Regions from separate parts of the Homo sapiens genome. Here region 2 is linked to region 1. The links are contacts of gene promoters, found by promoter capture Hi-C in human tissues and cell types (Jung and others, 2019). All regions are on one chromosome and are shown on one strand. Each heading gives the region's core, a stretch centred on a gene start or on the middle of the fragment in contact. The rest is flanking DNA. Distances are from core to core; before and after follow the strand shown.

Evidence for each region. The method cuts DNA at HindIII sites, captures the fragments that hold promoters and counts their contacts. A contact is called where the count stands out against the background at its distance.
Region 2: a fragment that was not itself captured here is called in contact with the fragment with the promoter of FOXK2 in region 1 in 3 of the 25 tissues and cell types used here (H1 embryonic stem cells, dorsolateral prefrontal cortex and pancreas).

Annotation. Positions count from the first base shown.
Region 1 is chr17:82,515,826-82,521,868 of GRCh38, reverse strand. FOXK2 (forkhead box K2) reads right to left here and starts at 2,137. Exons shown (of 9, transcript NM_004514.4): 1 at 1,562-2,137. The coding sequence starts at 1,980. RefSeq lists silencers at 1,298-1,347, 1,428-1,607, 2,058-2,717. The HindIII fragment of the contact is 19,651 bases long and covers 1-6,043 here.
Region 2 is chr17:82,628,208-82,634,250 of GRCh38, reverse strand. It overlaps WDR45B (WD repeat domain 45B), which reads left to right. Exons shown (of 10, transcript NM_019613.4): 3 at 3,229-3,330. Among named protein-coding and RNA genes, the nearest start is that of WDR45B, 17 kb to the left of the region's middle. The HindIII fragment of the contact is 5,957 bases long and covers 1-5,411 here.

The sequences.
Region 1 (6,043 bases), core at 888-3,387:
ACCTCCAGGGTTCACATTCTCCTGCCTCAGCCTCCTGAGTAGCTGGGACTACAGGCGCCCGCCACCGCGCCCGGCTAATTTTTTTTTTTTTTTTGTATTTTTAGTAGAGACGGGTTTCACCGTGTTAGCCAGAATGGTCTCGACCTCCTGACCTCGTGATCCACCCGCCTCGGCCTCCCAAAGTGCTGGGATTACAGGCGTGAGCCACCGCGCCCGGCCTGAAAATAACATTCTTTAAAATGCTACTACCAAAGTTTAAGGAATATGCTGGTGCACCTTTCCATGCTAAGAAACAGAACAGCGCATGCACACACACACAACACGCAAGTCAAGAAGAAAAGCAACAGCTCTTACCAGCATCTCCAACAACCGAAAGCGTTAAAAATTCCAATTTGTAGGCCGGGCGCGGTGGCTCACGCCTGTAATCCCAGCACTTTGGGAGGCCGAGGCGGGTGGATCACGAGGTCAGGAGTTCAATACCAGCCTGGCCAAGATGGTGAAACCCCGTCTCTACTAAAAATACAAAAAATTAGCCGGGCGCGGTGGCAGGCGCCTGTAATCCCAGCTACTCGGGAGGCTGGGGCAGGAGAACCACTTGAACTCAAAGGGCGGAGATTGCAGTGAGCCAAGATCGCGCCACTACACTCCAGCCTGAGCGACAAAGTGAGCCTCCGTCTCAAAAAACAAAAAACAAAAAAATTCCAGTTTGTGTGGACAAAGGCTGTACTTGCAATGATCTAGAAGTGAGCCCCTGAGGAATAATTAGCATTTCCTAGACAGCAAGTTTGTGTTTCAAGCAGAGTAAACGATAACTTCATAAAACCACAGGACCAAGCTAAATTGTTTTGTAGCAGGATAGGCAGTTCCCTATCAGGCTGACTTAACACTCTACATGACCTTGTAATAATTCCTAATCAACTGTCTTTTTGTAGAAGTTATGCGAAAAGCATCTAGTTTTCCCTAAATTTTAAGGTTCAGAGCACAGATTGAAAATCCATCATGCTTGAAGCGTCTTCCAATTTGGCCTACTGAAAACACGGCAGGGAAAAAGGAGTCCTTCCTGCTTAAAACACCGCACTCTTGAAACAGCTCACTACTGAAAACGACTGAACAACAACAACAACAAAAGACAACAGACAACCCTTCATCGGTTAAGAGACATAGATTTTAGTTCGGGGCAGTTCCTCCCACCGCACACCGTTTTCACATTTCTGTTCAGCGCGACCTCGCTGCAGAATAGAAACAGCACACGTGAACTCCCCGCACGCACAGAACCCAGAAACCTTGACCCGCGCGCGCAGCCGCCCGCAGCCCCGGCTCCAGGAAGGGGGAAAGACGGGGGGCTGCACCTGCCAGGAAGGGGACCGGGAGGACGGGGGTCGGGGCCAGGGGCTGTCGAGGGTTGGGATCCAGCCGGGGCCTGGGTCCCGCTGGTGGTCCCGGCTGTGGGAGAGTCGGGCCCCCGCTCGTGGGTGGTCCCGGGCCTGGGCGCGTGTCCCGTCCCGTCCTGCCAGGCGCTGCAGGCCGCAGACCCCGCCCGCCCCGCCCCGAGGCCACTCACACGCGCGGCAGCTGCAGCGGCGGCGCCCCGCGCCTCTGGAACACGCCGTCCACGAATACCCCGTTCTTGCCCAAGCAGCGCAGGTAGAAGTCGCCGCCGGCGTCGGGCCTGGGCTGCGCGGGCGGCAGCTCCGGAGCGGCCCCGCCATGGCCGCCGCCGCCCGGGGGCGTGAAGATCTCGAGGTGGCGCCGGGAGATGAAGCTCGAGTGGCCCATGCTCACGTCCACCGAGCCCTGCGACGAGTTGCGGCCGATGGTCACCGAGCGCTTCTTCATCAGATACTCGAACTCGCGGCCCTCCAGGCGCGCCACGGCCCAGCCGCCCGGCGGGGACCCGCCGCCCCCGGCCCCGCCGCCCCCGGCCCCGCCGCCCGCGGGTGGCGTGCCCGCGCCCGAGAGCGCCGCCGCGGCCGCCGCCATGGGCCTGCGTGAGGGCCCCCGGGCCGCTCCGCGCGGGCGCCGGTGGCGCGGGCCGAGGCCCAGGCCGCGCGGGTCGTCGGCCGCCGCGCACCGGAGCTGAGGGAGGGGGCCGAGCGGAGGCCGCCGGCCGGCGAGCGAGCGAGCGGCGGCGAGGGGCGGGAGCACGCGCGGCCGCGCCACCGAGCCGGCACGCCGGGCCCGCCCCTCGCTGACGGACGGTTACGCCGGCCAATGGGGGCGGCGTACGGCAGTGGGGCTACCGAAGCAGGCCAATGGCAAGACACGTCGCACCAAGCTGCCGGCACGTCCGGCGGCGACGCCCGACGCAGTCCCGACTCCGGGCGCCGCGGAAAACCCGGGGCGGACAGTCGGCAGCCCGCGCGGGATCGGGGCTGGCGCGGGGTTGGCGCGGGCGCGGGAGCTCGGGGGTCTGAGCCCGGCCTGGCAGCGCCTTAGGCGCGGCGGGCGGGACCAGGCCCAAGGTCACAGCGGGCGCCAGGCACGCAGCGGCCCCCAACCCGGCGTGGACGCCGGGGTGCGGATAGGCGGCGGCCCGCGAGCCCAGGCCCGGCCGCCGAGCGGCCTTTTCCCCGCGAGGTGCGGGAATATCGCGGAGGGGCCGCGTGCCGCGTGGCCTCAGACCCAGGGGACCCGGTGACACGTTCGTTTTTAACCAGCAGCTCCAGGACTGGATGTCGTTATCTTTCCTGGCTAGCGAGTCATGTCATTGTGTCAAAACTGTCCTGCAAAATACGCAGAAGTTCTGAATCACATTTACTTAACTGTCGTCAGCACACAGTTTAAAAATATACACGAGGCCGGGCGCGGTGGCTCACGCCTGTAAGCCCAGCACTTTGGGAGGCCGAGGCGAGCGGATCACCTGAGGTCAGGAGTTCGAGACCAGCCTAGCCAACATGGTGAAATCCCAGCTCTACTAAAAATACAAAAAAAAAAAAAAAAATAGCCGGGTGTGGTGGTGCACACCTGTAGTCCTAGCTACTCAGGAGGCTGAGGCAGGAGAATTGCTTAAACCTGGGAGGCGGAGGCAGGAGAATTGCTTCAACCTGGGAGGTGGAGGTTGCAGTAAGCCGAGATCGCGTCACTGCACTTCAGTCTGGGCAACAAGAGTGAAACTACGTCTCATATGTATATATATGAACTATATATATGTGAACTATATATATATATATGAACTATATATATATGAACTATATATATATGAACTATATATATGAACTATATACATATATGAACTATATATATATGAACTATATATATATGAACTCTCATGAACGAATAGTTAATATCTTAACCAATCTGATACTAAGTTTTTAAAAAAAGAATTTCGCCACCGTTTAAAAAATTACAAGATCCCATCTAAATCAAGATGATCAATAGTCCAGATGTTCACTAATCAATGAAACTCCTAACATTAAAAAGAAAAAATCCTGTGGCCGGGCGCGGTGGCTCACACCTGTAATCCCAGTGCTTTGGGAAGCCGAGGCGGGTGGATCACAAGGTCAGGAGTTCAAGACCAGCCTGCCCAACATAGTAAAAGCCCGTCTCTACTAAAAATACAAAAATTAGCCAGGCATGGTGGGGCGTGCCTGCAGTCCCAGCTACTTGGGAGGCTGAGGCAGTAGAATCGCTCGAACCTGGGAGGCGGAGGTTGTGGTGAGCAGACATCACGCCACTGCCCTCCAGCCTGGGTGACAGAGGAGACTCCGTCTCAAAAAAAAAAAAAAAAAAAAAAATTGGGAAAAGAAAGAAAAAATCCTGTAAATGTATCTCACGGGTACTTAACCAGTTGTGGAGACGTTCAAGGTTCAGGATCATGAAAAGTCTACAACCTCTTAAACAGGAAGAATTCCGTGGGAAGTCAGTGTCAGCCCTAGAAACCATGGCTTGGGCTCCAAGCGCGCATCTTCGCAAAACTGAAATAGCAACAAATGGTACCAATTTAGTCTCTGCTGGGGAGGGACTGCCCCCTGAATTGTCTCACTTCTTTCAGCATGGTGGTTCCTGCAGGGTGTGTGAGGAGAAGATCCTATTATAGCCTATATATACAGGTTATAGCAAACACCCCAGGGTTCCTCTATTTGCTGCTTGTTAAATAGCAAAGAACAATTAGAAGAGAGAAATGATATAATTTAGGTACAGAGGCCTGGCACGGTGGCTCATGACTGAATCCCAACACTTTGGGAGGCCGAGGTGGGTGGATCACTTGAGGTTAGAAGTTGGAGACCAGCCTGGCCAACATGGTGAATCCACATATCTACTAAAAATACAAATATTAGCTGGGTGTGGTGGCACGTGCCTATAATCCCAGCTACTTGAGAGGCTGAGGCAGGAGAATCGCTTAAACGCGGGAGGCGGAAATTGCAGTAAGCAAGCGGAGATTGCACCACTGCATTCCAGCCTGGGTGACAAAGCCAGACTCTGTCTCGAAAATAATCATCATCATCATAATGTAGGTACAAAAGGAGTTTAGTGTGAGTAGAAAGACTTGAGACTGGACTTAAACGGAGCAGGATAAAGTGGAGATCCTGAACAGGAACCACCAACTGGGGGCCCCAGGCAGGAGACATCAGGGTCAGTTCATGCATTTTTATTCCTTCAATGTGTAAAAACTTTTTCTAAAAGAAATGGAAATTAATGTGTCCCTCTGAATGTAACATTTACATGTCTTTTTTTTTTTTTTTTTTTTTTTTGAGTGGAGTTTTGCCCTTGTTGCCCAGGCTGGAGTGCAATGGTGCGATCTTGGCTCACTGCAACCTCCACCTCCCAGGTTCAAGTGATTCTCCTGCCTCAGCCTCCCAAGTAGCTGGGATTACAGGTGCTCACCACCACGCCTGGCTAATTTTGTATTTTTAGTAGACGAGGTTTCACCCTGTTGGCCAGGATTGTCTCGATCTATTGACCTCGTGATCCACTTGCCTGGGCCTCCCAAAGTGCTGGGATTACAGGCGTGAGCCACCATGCCCGACCTACATTTACATGTCTTAATTGCCATATATGTGTTTGTAATTATAGTACAAATTCCTACAGGTGCAAAGTGTTCTGGCAGGATTTCCTAGACAGAAAAAATTGTTTCATTAAATATTCACTTATATATTAGAGGAATTTTTTTTTCTTTTCCTTTTTTTTTTTTTTTTGAGACAGTCTCACCCTGTTGCCCAGGCTGGAGTGCGGTGGCCCAATCTCTACTCACTGTAACCTCCGCCTCCTGGGTTCAAGCGATTCTCCTGCCTCAGCCTCCCGAGTAGCTGGGATTACAGGCGTGTGCCACCACACCCAGCTAATTTTTATATTTTTAGTAGAGACGGGTTTTCACCATATTGGCCAGGCTGGTCTCGAACTCCTGACCTCCAGTGATCCGCCCGCCTTGGCCTCCCAAAGTGCCAGGATTACAGGTGTAAGCCACCGTGCCCGGCCATATTAGAGGGATTTTAGGGGACATTGAGATGACTATGGAAATGATAAATAGGAAGTGTATCATTTAACCAAAAAAAAAAAAAAAAAACAGGCCGGGTGTGGTGGCTCACACATGTAATCTCAGCACTTTTGGGAGGCCGAGGCAGGCGGATCACTAAAGGTCAGGAATTCAAGACCAGCCTGCCCAACATGGTGAAACCCTGTCTCTACTAAAAATACAAAAAATCAGCTGGGCGTGGTGGCGCATGCTTGTAATCCCAGCTACTCAGGAGGCTGAGGCAGGAGAATTGCTTTAACTAGGAGGCGGTGGTTGCGGTGAGCCAAGATCGTGCCACCGCACTCCAGCCTGGGTGACAGAGTGAGACTTTGTCTCAAAAAAAAAAGAAAAGAAAAAAAGAACAACAAAAAAAGATGGGCAGGCCAGGCATGGTGGCTCACACCTGTAATCCCAGCACTGTGGGAGGCCCAGGTGGGCAGATCACAAGGTCAATAGATGGAGACCATCCTGGCCAATATGGTGAAACCCCATCTCCACTAAAAATACAAAAATTGGCCGGGCACAGTGGTTCACGCCTGTAATCCCAGCACTTTGGGAGGCCGAGGCGGGCGGATCATGAGGTCAGGAGAT
Region 2 (6,043 bases), core at 1,184-3,683, 110 kb before region 1:
CCCAAGGTGTTGGGTTTATGGGTATGAGCCACTGCATCTGGTCATTTGGTAACTTTTTGATTTATAAAAATCAGCCTTTTTTTTTTTTTTTTTTTTTTTTGAGATGGAGTCTCACTGTGTCACCCAGGCTGGCGTGCAGTGTCACAATCTCGGCTCACTGCAACGTCCGCTTCCCGGGTTCAAGCGATTCTCCTGCCTCAGCCTCCCAAGTAGCTGGGATTACAGGCACCTGCCACCACGCCTGGCTAATTTTTTTGAATTTTTAGTAGAGACGAGGTTTCACCATGTTGGCCAAGCTGGTTTCAAACTCCTGACCTCAAGTGATCCACCTGCCTTGCCTCCCGAAGTGCTGAGATAACAGGCATGAGCCACCACGCCTGGCCTTTTTATTATTTTTTAATTGAGGGAGCGTCTCACTGTGTTGCCCAGGCTGATCTTAAACTCCTGGCCTCAAGTCATCATCCTGCCTTGGCCTCCCAGGGTGCTGGGATTATAGGTGTGAGTGAGCTGCTGTGCCCAGCCTCTTTTTAATTTTTTGAGGACCTGTCCTACTTTTTTCCAGAGCAGCTGCATCAGACAGTGCATGAGAGTTCCCATAGCTTCATATCTTGGCCAGTACTTGTTATTTCCTGGGTTAAAAAACAATATTAGCCATCCTCTGCAGTGAGCCCTGTTCTCATCACTGCACTTGCCTGAGCAACACTGTCTCAAAAAAAGAAAAAAAATTAGTCATCTTCATGGGTATGAGGTGGTGGGATCTCATTGTGGTTTGGTTTTGATGTCTCTGATGCCTAATGAAGTTGAGCATCTTTCTTTGTACTTGTTGGCCATTTGTAAATTATCTTTGAAGAAACACTACTCAAATCCTTTGCCAATTTTAAAATCAGATTATTAATTTTTTTATTGTTGAGTTGTAAAAGTCCTTCATATATTCTGGATATTACGCACTGTATCAGATGTGTGGTTTGTAAATATGCTCTGCCGTTCCATAGGTTGTGTTTTCATTCTGTTGATTGTGTCCTTTGGTGCACAAAAGTTTGATGTCCCAAAAGCACATTGCCCGTGCTGGTTTTTTTTTTTTTTTTTTTGAGATGGAGTCTCCCTCCTTCGCCCAGGCTGGAGTGCAGTGGTGCAATCCTTGCTCACTGCAACCTCTGCCTCCCGGGCTCAAGCGATTCTCCTGCCACAGACTCCTATATAGCTGGGATTACAGGCGCCTGCCACCACAGCCAGCTAATTTTTGTATTTTTAGTAGAGACGGAGTTTCACTATGTTGGCCAGGTCGAACTCCTGACCTCAAGTAATCCACCTGCCTCAGCCTCCCAAAGTGCTGAGATTACAGGCGTGAGCCACTGCGGCCGGCGAATTTTTTAATTTTTATTTTTGGTAGAGAAGGGATTTCCTTATGTTGCCCAGGATGGCCTTGAACTCTTGGGCTCAAGCAGTCCTCCCACCTCTGCCTGCCAAAGTGCTGGGATTACAGATGTGAGCCACTGTGCCCGGCTGCCTTGAATTTTAAATATCTCGAAGATCGAGCTGAGGAACTTTTGAGTCATTTCGTGCAGCTGTGACTGGAGAGATAGAGCTCATGGTCATTGCAGACACAGAAGTGGGTGGGTGGATGGTCCTCCTGAGTTACGTGAACCATGCAGAACGTGGGAGTTTCTCATCAGTGTGCCCCTGTTGCTCCCCTCAGAGAGCATTGGTCATCCTTTTGTCATGGAAGACCTCTGAAAATTTGTGGACATTTTCCTCTTACGTAATTCATGAACAGTTGGGAGCATTTCAGACTTCGGTGGCTCACACTTACAATCCCAGCATTTTGGGAGGCTGAGATGGCAGGATTGTTTGAGACCAGGAGTTCACGACCAGCCTGGGCAATACAGTATGACCTCGCCTCTACAAAAACTTTTCTGAAAAAATTAACCAGGCGCGGTGATGTGTGCCTGTAGTCCCAGCTACTCGGGAGGCTGAAGCAGGAGGAGTCCTTGAGCCCGGGAGTTTGAGGCTGTAGTGAGCTGTGATCACTTCACTGCACTCAAGCCTGAGCAACACAGCAAGACCCTGTTTCTTAAAAAAAAAGGAAATGATAAAAGTCACTCAGCTTTTGCATTAAAGTTTTGTGGGGTTTTTTTGGTTTGTTTTTATTTTTGTTTTTATTTATTTATCTTGAGATAGAGTCTCGCTCTGTCACCAGGCTGGAGTGCAGTGGTGTGATCTCGGCTCACTGCAGCCTCAGCCTCCGGGGTTCAAGTGATTCTCCTGCCTCAGCTCCTGAGTGGCTGGGACTACAGGTGCCTGCCACCACGCCGGCTAATTTTTGTATTTGTAGTAAAGACAGCGTTTCACCATGTTGGCCCAGATGGTCTCAGTCTCTTGACCTCATCATCTGCCCGCCTCAGCCTCCCAAGCATTAAAGCTTTTAGTATGCTGTCTTGGAGTTGACAGGTTTTGCCACCTCTTGAAATGTGAATTCAAGTATTTCATACATTTTGCTGAGTTAGCTTCCTAGGGTGTTGTGTGCTCAGCCTTTATGAAACAGTGAACATGATGACAGTAAACTGAGAGAATTTGGAAACCTAGCACTCACTATTTTTTTAGCCAGTCACCTTTCTCATTTCTGACGATAGTTAGATATAAATTGCTGATTAAAAATGAGTCCTGTAGGCCGGGCACAGTGGCTCATGTCTGTAGTCCCAGCATTTTGGGAGGCCGAGGCAGACTGATCGCCTGAGTTCAGGAGTTTGAGATCAGCCTGGCCAGCATAGTGAAACCCCATCTCTACTAAAAATACAAAAATTAGCTGGGCATGGTGGCACATGCTTGTAATCCCAACTACCTGGGGAGGCTGAGGCAGGAGAGTGGCTTGAACCCAGGAGGTGGAGGTTGCAGTAAGCCGAGATCGCGCGACTGCACTCTAGCCTGGGTGACAGAGCAAGACTCCTTCTCAAAAAAAAAAAAAAAAAAAAAAAATGAGTCCTGTATTCCCAGCTACTTGGGAAGCTGAGGCAGGAGGATCATGTGAGCCCAGGAGTTCAAGGCTGCAGTGAGCTGTGATTGTACCTGTGAATAGCTACTGCATTCCAGCCTGGGCAACACAGTGAGATCTTGTCTCTTACAAAAAATAGAAAATTGCTGCGTTACCTGTCTTGACTTTCTCTTTTCTTTTTTATTGTAAAATATACATATTAACTTGTAACATTGGTCTTTTTAAAACTATCATTTCAGAATTTCTAGAAGGAGGAGTTGGCCATGTTGAAATGTTATTTCGCTGCAACTATTTAGCTTTAGTTGGTGGTGGAAAAAAGCCGAAATACCCTCCCAACAAAGGTACTGTAATTGTGTATTGAAGAATCATGCCTCACGTGTCCCACCCAGTCTTTTTTTGAATGCGTTTATGTTTGTGGCCATGTGTGATTTTCCCTAGTAGTTCTGTGAAATATCCAGGACTGGTCACTGGGGAGGAAGCAGGCGAAGAGGGCACCAGGTCTCTATTCCCAGATGGAGCACCTAAAGAGCATCACTCGCTTGCATTGTCATAGAACACGTGCGTTTCAGTCAGTAAACGGAAAACGGGCCTGCTGCACCTTAGGTTGACGTCGTAAATGTCATGAATTCATTTTAAAGCAAGGTAGAAGGATTTTTTTTCTTACAGAGAGCCATTGACTTAAAGGAACATTAGTTTCATAGCCACGTGGAACAAAACACCACTTGGGCTCTGGGTTTCGGGATATGTTTGTCGGAGTGGGAGTACGTGTGTGTATGCAGATGATGTGGCGTAAGAGCTCTGGCCCTTTTAAGTAGAGGGAGGAGTAGATAGCTTTCCTGACAGCCGTGTGCCTCGTGCCAGCTTAACCTCGCTGTTGGTTGAGGAAAGAGGGCTCAAGGCGAAAGATCCAGGAATGGAGGGCAGAACACAGGGAAGAGGTGGGAGGCGGGAGGTAGGCTGGGTGGGGGAGGTGGGAGGCAGATCTGGGGGAGGCTTGAATGCCAGGTAACGTGTGGCCAGGAAGGAGATGCCGTCAGATCTGTGTTTTGGGAAAGTTCTGGTCTAGATGCAGTGCATGAGGTGAGTGAAGAGACACCAGAGGATGGGGCAGGTGTGGGAAGCCCCCGTTTATGGGGAGAGGCAGGAAAAGTGGAGCAAGCATCCTCGTCTGAGCCCAGTGCCAGGCGGGAGGAGGCCTGAGAAAAGCCATCTGGTTCTGGTGACATTGAAGGCCACCGGTGGTCTCAGAGGATGACTGAGTGGGAGCCCAGTGGTGGGTGGGTAGGGTGGGAGGAGGTGAGGAGGGAAGGAGAGGCTCAGTGAGGGAGGCAGTTCAGAATCAAGACCAGGATGGGGCTCTGGGGGCGCCGCATGCCAAATGGGAAGTGAGTGGGTGAACTAGGATCTGGGTGATATCACGTACTTAGGAATAGAATAGCCCAGGTCAGATCAGGCACAAAAGGATTGTGTGGAAAGGCAGAAGGTTCCAGATGACTCGTGACAAGCTTTGGGGCCCAGCTCACAGTTCTCAGCAGAGCCCCGTGAACTGCGTGAACGTGAATGTGCGGAAGAGAGACCACACTCGGGTGAGGACTGGCCCTGCCTGATACATTTATTTTTGTTTTGGAATTAGGAACAGAGAAATGAAATGGGAAGAGATTATCGGTAGGAAAAACAGTGGAAGACAGGGCTTGAGATCTTGGCCTTTGAGCGGTTCTGTAATCTCACAAGGTTTGTCTGTGCCAGCTTTAAAGCAGAGTTGAGAGTGGCTGCTAGCATAGCCCAGAGGGGCAGAGGCCTGTGGCTTGTGAGTCCTCTGGAGGAGCCCACCCAGAAGGGACAGCGGAGGTTCCACAGAGAGAGCAGGGCAGGATTTGCAGGAGAATGACTTTGCCCTGGCTAATTGGGGATGGGCAGAAATCCTGCTGGTGAATTGGTCTGTGTCTTGTCATGGAGAACTTCATTGACCATTAAGGAGGAAAGGAAGCTTATAGATGGAAGTCAGGAGGCCTAGAGGGCCGCCTCCCTTGCCCTACCTCTGGCACTGCTGGGGGACCCCAGGTGCTAACAAGGGAGCCATTTGTATGAGATAATCTCAGGTCTCATTCTCATTATAAAGTTTCTAAGAGGTGAAAAAGCCTTAGAAACTTCACAGACTTAGAAGAAAGCAGTATTCAGCAGGTTTTTGAGTAAATGTACTTTTTGTAGCGTTTAAAGGTACTTTTTTTTACTAGTAAACTTGATTTTTATTTATTTAGTTTTGAGACAGGGTCTCACTGTGTTGCCCAGGCTGGAATGCAGTTGCGCAGTCCTGGCTCACTGCAGCTTCTACCTCCCCAGGCTCAGGTGATCCTTCCGCCTCAGCCTCCCGAGTAGCTGGGAGTACCGGAGCACCCACCACACCCGGCTACCTTTTGTGTTTTTAGTAGAGACGGCGTTTCCACATGTTGCCCACGCTGGTCTCAAACTCCTGAGCTCCATTGATCCGCCTGCCTCTGCCTCCCAAAGCGCTGGGATTACAGGTGTGAGCCATCACACCCAGCTGTGTTTTTTGTGTGTTTTTTTGAGACAGGGTCTCCCTCTGTTGCCCAGCTTGGAGTGCAGTGGGGTGATCATAGCTCACTGCAGCCTCAGACTCCTGGACTCTACCTGAGTAGCTGTGACTAATTTTTAATAACTTTTTTTTTCAGAAATGGGAGTCTCACTATGTTGCCCAGGCTGGTCTTGAACTCTTGGCCTCAAGCGATCTCACACCCCAGCCTCCCAAAGTGCTGGGATTACAGGCGTGAGCCACCGCACCCATCCCTCCTGTGGTTCTTCAAAAGCACGGTGCTGGTTGGCATTCTCATCCCTAAAGCTTGTCGGTACATTAGCCCTTAGAACACAAACTGCTAATTTATGCTAATAGAATGTTGCAATGTTAGCAGGCAAACAAGACAGAAGAAATTTTGAACTTAAAAAGGAGCAGGGGCTGGGTGCAGTGGCTCACACGTGCAGTCCTAGCACTTTGGGAAGTTGAGGTGGGCAGATCACTTCAGCCCAGAAGTTCGAGAC